2 separate regions of the Homo sapiens genome follow, and region 2 is linked to region 1. The links are contacts of gene promoters, found by promoter capture Hi-C in human tissues and cell types (Jung and others, 2019). All regions are on one chromosome and are shown on one strand. The core of a region is centred on a gene start or on the middle of the fragment in contact, and the rest is flanking DNA. Distances in the headings are between cores, read along the strand shown.

What was found. Contacts are between HindIII fragments. The study calls those that stand out against the background at their distance.
Region 2: the fragment with the promoter of CAPS here is called in contact with the fragment with the promoter of FUT6 in region 1 in 5 of the 25 tissues and cell types used here (IMR-90 fibroblasts, aorta, bladder and 2 more).

Annotation. Positions count from the first base shown.
Region 1 is chr19:5,837,384-5,841,026 of GRCh38, forward strand. FUT6 (fucosyltransferase 6) reads right to left here and starts at 2,319. Exons shown (of 3, transcript NM_000150.4): 1 at 1,294-2,319. The HindIII fragment of the contact is 16,612 bases long and covers 1-3,643 here.
Region 2 is chr19:5,912,555-5,916,451 of GRCh38, forward strand. It overlaps CAPS (calcyphosine), which reads left to right and starts at 1,700. Exons shown (of 5, transcript NM_004058.5): 1 at 1,700-1,755; 2 at 1,831-1,935; 3 at 2,009-2,186; 4 at 2,386-2,592; 5 at 2,667-3,657. The coding sequence starts at 1,853. The coding sequence ends at 2,768. It overlaps RANBP3 (RAN binding protein 3), which reads right to left. Exons shown (of 17, transcript NM_007322.3): 17 at 3,585-3,897. The HindIII fragment of the contact is 10,666 bases long and covers 1-3,897 here.

The DNA of each region.
Region 1 (3,643 bases), core at 1,069-3,568:
TGAATGTCTGAATTGTCTTCTGAGGGTAAAATGCACACTAGATTGCCAAGATTTAGGATGAAAAACAGAATGTCAGATATCTCAATAAAACTTTTTAAAGGCCAGGCACGGTGGCTCATGCCTGTAGTCCCAGCACTTTGAGAGGTGGAGGCGGGCGAATCACCTGAGGTCAGGAGTTAGAGACTGTCCTGACCAACATGGTGAAACCCCGTCTCTACTAAAAATACAAAAAATTAGCCAGGCGCGGTGGCGGGCACCTGTAGTCCCAGCTACTCGGGAGGCTGAGGCAGGAAAATGGTGTGAACCCGGGAGGCGGAGCTTGCAGTGAGCCAAGGTCGCGCCACTGCACTCCAGCCTGGGCAACAGAGCGAGACTCTGTCTCAAAAAAATAAAATAAAATAAAATAAAATAAATAAACTGAGTTGGTCTAAACCTTATGGTGCATAGCGGAGCTCCAGGCATGGTGACCTAGGTGTGATGAGAAGGGATTGAGAGCACAAGCGCATACCAAAGTTCTGGAAAAAGACTCAAGAGACAGCCCTCGAGGGACACTCAGAGCCCGGACTGGGAGGGAGGTTGAATTTTAACCAAGTATTCCTTTGTGCTGTCGGGCTCTTGGGCTGCCAGTGAAAGGTTAATGTTTAGAGATACATTTAATATTAATATATTATCATGTGGCCCCTGGGTTTATGGCGACCTCTTCCTAGGAGACAGTGAAGTCTTTGCCGGTGACCTTCAGGAGGGGAGATTGGGGGAAACGGGGAACGGGAGTCCAGGAGAGAGATCTCACCCAAGGTACTTTCCCTGGAAAATGATCGATCCACGCCACAAAGATCAGGATGCAAAAAAACAAAGCCAGAAAGCAAACCGCATTCTAAGCCCTCTTTTACCACCGGGAGTGGCAGAGGCAGAGAAAATCCGGGGCCAGGAAGGATGAAGGGGTGTAGGCTGCTGATGGGGTCGGGGGGCACGGGATTCTACCGCAGAGCTCTGCAAGAGAGACAGACAGACACCCACTTCCTCCTGGTTTGGCAAATCAGCCAGACCTCCCATATCCTCAGCCCACCTCGGTGCATCCAGAAAGACCCCTGCCTGCGACTAGGGGCTGCTGGCCAAATGCCAGGCCACTGCACAGCCTGCAGACCCTCCCCCAGGGATCTTGTGCCAGCCCACCCGCACTCTGAATTACAGCAGACAGGACTGAGGCTGAGGGGAGGAGGCTCGGAGCCAGGAGGCCTTTCCCTGGACCCATGCGATCCGGGTTGGGGGTGAAAGTGGGACAAGAGGCCTTACCTGGGGGGGCCAGTGTGCAGAGGGCCCTAGAGCTGAGAGGCCGCGGACGGAGTAACAGCTGGATTCTGAGGACGTGGAAGAGGCCACACCACGCAGCAGAAGGAAGGAGGAAGTGTACCCGGAGCTGAAACCAGGCCCTTTCCAACCACCACACCTGTCATCAGGTGACCCAGGGCATCCTGTCCTGGAGCCCGGACATCCTTTGAAAACAAATCGTGGGGCTCCCCTAATCCCCGTTGCAGAACCAAACAGGGTGAAGGGATTTGGAGACTCAGGTCATGCATGACCTTGCCCCACCTGTGGCTTCAATGCGATGTGGCTTTGAGTACAAAGTGAAAAGGCTGACCTGAACCACCGGTTCCCAAAGCGGGTTCCACAGGGACACCAGGGGTTCCTTGGGAGGTGGGAATGAGGAAGTGAGCAGAATTTCTACCTTTCCGCTTTCCTTCCCACCAGATCCCACCTTCTCACTCAGTTGGCCCATCACCAAATATTTCCTGAGCACTAAGTGCCAGGCCAAGGGATCTTGCAGGAAACCGGTGGGCAAGTCAGGCAACTCATGAACCTTGGAAGGGAACTTTCTTCAATTAAAATTGCAGCCTTTTGAATAAAAAAGGGATGGAAGGGCATTCCAGTTACAAGGAACAACCTTCGCAAAGGCCCTGAGGCAGCAGAAATGCAGGCATGTTGAGGAACTGCAGGAGGAGTCTCAGCAGGCTGGGTCTTCACCACTGGAGAGGAGGCAGAGCTGTTGCAGAGGCTGGGCCACGGTCAGCCATAGGGTGTTCAGCACCAAGGCAATAGGGAGCCATGTGAGGCTTCAAGCAGAGGGGTTACCATGTCGATACATGTTTTCAGATGCTCTCTTCTGGTAGGCTGGGCACAGGTCCCATATTGGTGGCAGAAGCTTCCTCCGGTGGCCTCAACAAGCCCCTCTGTGTGCCTCAAAGCCACTTCCTTTCCCCACCCACTCCTGCAGGGCAGTGCAAAGCAGAAGTCCAGGGAGCTATGCAAACTTCCTGGAATGGAGAGAAATGATCTGGAATACTGGTTTTGAGGGAGGATGACCTTAAACTCTCTCACTCCCAAGCTGGGTGCAAAGGTGACCGAGCTCAAAGCCCAGCCTCCAAGTATCACGACTGCCCTGTTCTAGAAATCATTTCTGGGAGGCTGCATCATGCTGCCTGAGTTCTACTATCTCAGTGCCCAGCCACGCCCAGACCAGTGAGGTTCTGGGAGGTAGGGATGGGCCAGGGGGTTGGGGTCTCCCAGAGCTCCAGAAGTGGCAACCTAATTCCACTCATGTCTCATTCCTTGACTGGTGAGGTTGACTGTAACTTATTAAAAAAATGACTTCTGGGGGCCGGGCGTGGTGGCTCACGCCTGTAATCCCAACACTTTGGGAGGCCGAGGTGGGCAGATCACGAGATCAGAAGATCAAGACCATCCATCCTGACTAACATGGTGAAACCCTGTCTCTACTAAAAATACAAAAAAATTAGCCAGGCGTGGTAGTGGGTGCCTGTAGTCCCAGCTACTTGGGAGGCTGAGGCAGGAGAATGGTGTGAACCCGGGAGGCGGAGCTTGCAGTGAGCCTAGATTGAGCCACTGCACTCCAGCCTGGGCGACAGTGCAAGACTCTGTCTCAAAAAAAAAAAAAAAAAAAAAAAAGACTTCTGAGGCCATGCACAGTGACTCACACCTGTAATCCCAACAGTTTGGGAAGGAGAGGCAGGAAGATCGCTTGAGCCCAGGAGTCTGAGACCAGCCTAGGGAAAACAGAGATACCCCTATCTCTCTCTTTTTTTTGAGATGGAATCTTGCTCTGTCACTCGGGCTGGAGTGCAGTGGCACAGTCTCAGTTTACTGTAACCTATGCCTCCCGGGCTCAAGCGATTCTCATGCCCCAGCCTCCCGAGTAGCTGGGACTACAGGCGCGTGACACGGCACTGGGTAACTTTCGTATTTTTTTAATAGAGCTGGTTTTCGCCATGTTAGCCAGGCTGATCTTGACCTCCTGACTTCAGGTGATCTGTCTGCCTCAGCCTCCTAAAGTACTGGGATTAGAGGCCAGGCATGAGCCACTCCGCCCAGCTGGGTTTTTTTTCTTTTTTTTTTTTGAGACAGAGTCTCGCTCTGTGGCCCAGGCTGGAGTGCAGTGGCACGATCTCGGCTCATGGCAAGCTCTGCCTCCTGGGTTCACGCCATTCTCCTGCCCCAAGTAGCTGGGACTACAGGCGTCCGCCATCACGCCCAGCTAATTTTTTTTTTTTTTTTTGTATTTTTAGTAGAGACATGTTAGCCAGGATGGTCTCGATCTCCTGACCTTGTGATCCGCCCGCCTCGGCCT
Region 2 (3,897 bases), core at 450-2,949, 75 kb after region 1:
CCTCCCAAAGTGCTGGGATTACAGGCGTGAGCCACCGTGCCCGGCCAGTTTATTTACTTATTTTTAAGAGGCGGGCGTCTTGCTCTGTAACCCAGGCTGGAGTGCAGTGGTGCGATCATAGCTCACTGCAGCCTCCAACTCCCGGGCTCAAGTGATCCTCCTGCCTCAGCCTTCCAAGTAGGTGGGATTACAGGAACACACCACCATGCCTGGCTAATTTTTTGTAGTTTTTGTAGAGATGGGGGGGTCTCACTATGTTGCACAGGCGGGTCTCAAACTCCTGGGCTCAAGTGATCTTCCTGCCCTGGCTTCCCAAAGTGTTGGGATTACAGGCATGAGCCACCGCGCTCAGGCAAGGCAACTTCTGACAATATAATTGTGCTGTGAGCGAGGTAAAGCCAGGCTTGGAGAAGGCTCCGATTGATGATCCTTGGGTCGGGGCGAACAGTGGGTCCTCAAACAGGGCCCACGTTTCAAGTCCTGGAAAACCCACCTATCTTAGCGGGCAGGTATATCCGATGTCTCCGTTGAAGGCCTTCAGTGAGGTGGCTTCGTCTCTTGAGGTTTATGTCCAGGATCAGGGCTGCTCTTCCACTCGGGGTCACAACCTCTGGCTCACCACCTTGTCAGGAGCCAGCCCACTAAGTCACGTTTCAGGCCTGAAAACCAACAACAAAAGATCCGTAAAGACAGAAATCCTGGGACTGGCTCCTAACAACGGCCAGTGACAAGCTTTGTGGCAGTGAGCAGAGGTGTCCCTCAGGCTCAGCTCAGTCTCTGTGGGTTGCAGGACCTGCCCTTGGAGGTGGGCCTGGGTGGGAGGTCTTAGGGCCCCAGGACCTGGGCCACCTGGGGCTTTTTTTTTTTTTTTCTTTTTGAGATGGAGTCTTGCTCTGTCGCCCAGACTGGAGTGCAGTGGTGCAATCTTGGCTCACTGCAAGCTCCACCTCCTGGGTTCAAGCGATTCTCCTGCCTCAGCTTCCTAAGTAGCTCGGATTACAGGCGCCCACCATCATGCACGGCTAATTTTTGTATTTTTAGTAGAGGCGGGGTTTCACCATGTTGGTCAGGCTGGTCTCAAACTCCTCACCTTGTGATCTGCCCACCTCGGCCTCCCAAAGTGCTGGGATTACAGGCATGAGCCACCGCGCCCAGCCCACCTGGGGCATTTTTGTTGCTGTACAATAGAAACAAGTTCTCTATATGTTCCCCAGGCTGGTCCAAACTCCTGGGCTCAAGTGATCCTCCCACCTAGACCTCCCAAAGTGCTGGGATTTCAGGCATGAGCCGCAGTGGCCGGTCAGAACCTGGGGCCCTTTTGAACTTTGATTCCTCAGCAATTTTGTCAGCCCTGGCTCGGGCTGAGAAGCCCCTGTGAAGCCAGAGAGGGAAAGGGACCTGTCCAGGGTCACACAGGAATCATGCGTCAAGCCTCCCCAGCCACGGACTTGTCTCCATCCAGGGCATTTCAGCCCCTGCAGGGCAGTGGCCTGCCCCTCCTCCTTGGAGCCAGGAAGGGATGCAGTGCCACAGGGATCTGGCTCTGTCCCAGGCCCTGTGGGGCTGGCAGTTGAGTAAGCAGTCAGGCTGGGCGCACCCATCCCTCCCCCACTCCCCACTGCCCAGCACAGTGCATTCATGCAGCTGGGCCCCACCCCATCTCCAGAGGCACCTTCCACTAGCAACAGTCTCCCCAGGCACAACACAGCTAACACAAGGCCCCGCAGGCAGGACTCTGGGACAGACGCAGGCCAGGTGAGCATCTGAACAAGGGGCAGTCGGCCAGGGTGGGCTTGCGGGAGTCCCCACCTTGACCTCTCTCCCTTCCAGCTGCCCAGAGCCCAGACCAAGCATGGACGCCGTGGATGCCACCATGGAGAAACTCCGGGCACAGTGCCTGTCCCGCGGGGCCTCGGGCATCCAGGGCCTGGCCAGGTGAGCTGTCCCCTCTCACCTTCCTGACCCCGGCCCCTGAGACCACTGTTCCAACCGTGTCCCCTGCCTCCAGGTTTTTCCGCCAACTAGACCGGGACGGGAGCAGATCCCTGGACGCTGATGAGTTCCGGCAGGGTCTGGCCAAACTCGGGCTGGTGCTGGACCAGGCGGAGGCAGAGGGTGTGTGCAGGAAGTGGGACCGCAATGGCAGCGGGACGCTGGATCTGGAGGAGTTCCTTCGGGCGCTGCGGGTGAGCCCCCACCTCACAGTCAAGGCGTGTGCCCTGGGCATGGGGCGACAGAGGATGCTGAGATGCGGAGACGGGGACTCCTCCCTAAGAGCTGCTGTTAAGAGGCGCCTGCTGGGGCATACAGCCCCAGTGCTCTGCACAGCGTCTTGGGGGTTTGGGTGTGCTACCCACCACCCCCAGTCACCACCTCCTGTCCCAGCCCCCCATGTCCCAGGCCCGGGAGGCTGTCATCGCAGCTGCATTTGCCAAGCTGGACCGCAGTGGGGACGGCGTCGTGACGGTGGACGACCTCCGCGGGGTGTACAGTGGCCGTGCCCACCCCAAGGTGCGCAGTGGGGAGTGGACCGAGGACGAGGTGCTGCGCCGCTTCCTGGACAACTTCGACTCCTCTGAGAAGGACGGGCAGGTGGGTGGCTGCGCGGGGGGCCCCCTCCCCAGGCAGTTCCTCGGCCGTGCCCCCTCACGGCCCTCTGTTCCCAGGTCACACTGGCGGAATTCCAGGACTACTACAGCGGCGTGAGTGCCTCCATGAACACGGATGAGGAGTTCGTGGCCATGATGACCAGTGCCTGGCAGCTGTGAGCAGCTCCGGCTCAGCCCTGCTGCCCTGGCCTGTCACTCCCCACCCCTGCCGGAGACCTCCCTTCCCTGGGCCCCTTCTCTCCTGGGCAGCCACACCACAGAGCGGGGAGGGGCAGGTGGGGGAATGGAGGCTGCAGGACTGGCTAGACCAGGTCCCTGCCGGTCCACCAGGCGGAGGTGGGACAAAGGTCCTAACAGGAGTCACTGGCTCAGGACCCCAGGGAGAAACGCTCTCCCCACCCACGCCATGCTGACCAGAGATCTTGCAGCCCCTGTGGATGCCCCCGCCGAGGTCCCCCGATCCCCGCACCCGGACTGCTGCTCCCTGCCCCTCCCTTGCGGGTCCCCCAGGAAGCCAGGTGACCCCAGGTGGGAGGCTGTGTGTGGAGGCCATCCTGGAAGGAAGTTTAGACCTGCCCAGGTGTGGAGCGAGGGGCACAGGGGCATCCTAACCTCAGAAACTGAAATAAAGCCTTTGAAAAAAAAATCTGTAAAACATCAACCCCCAATCAGAAGATGGCAAATGGGGAATAAAAATAGCAGGTAACATGTCCAGCGGGCCCAGTATCTACATTCTGGTGAGCGGCCCGAGGCTGGGAGCTCTGGGCGGGGGCAGACCGGCGGGGCCTTGCAGCAGGGGTGGGGGTAAAGTGCGGGTGGTGGTGGAGAGAACAGGGCTGTGGCTGGACCCCAGCACTGGTGACACGCTGGGTGGGAGCATGAGGCCCCAGGCTGCTGGAGGTCCTCGCCCGGGGAGGTGGAGGCCGTTCCTGGTCAGGGGCTTCCTGAGGCCCCTGGGGCATGCAGAGGCCAGGGTTTTAGTTAAAAGTTTAATGTAGTTCCCAAATACATTTCATATGACAATCTTACATAAATGTTCCAAAACACATGGGCGTTATCTCGTTGTACTCGTCACTAGCTGGCTAAGGCTTAAAGCAGAGACGTGTGACTGGGTCTCTCGGGAGGGCCTCTGGTTCTTCCCGGGCTCAGGCTTGCTGGGGGCTGGGGGCCAGGGCTCTGGCGACCTAGAGGTGTGGACGGCACAGCTGCAGGAGGCCTTCTCTTAACCCTCCGAGAGTGGGACTGGGAGATTTCCTCTGAAGTCCCAAAGAGGCCCTGTGCCCAGGGG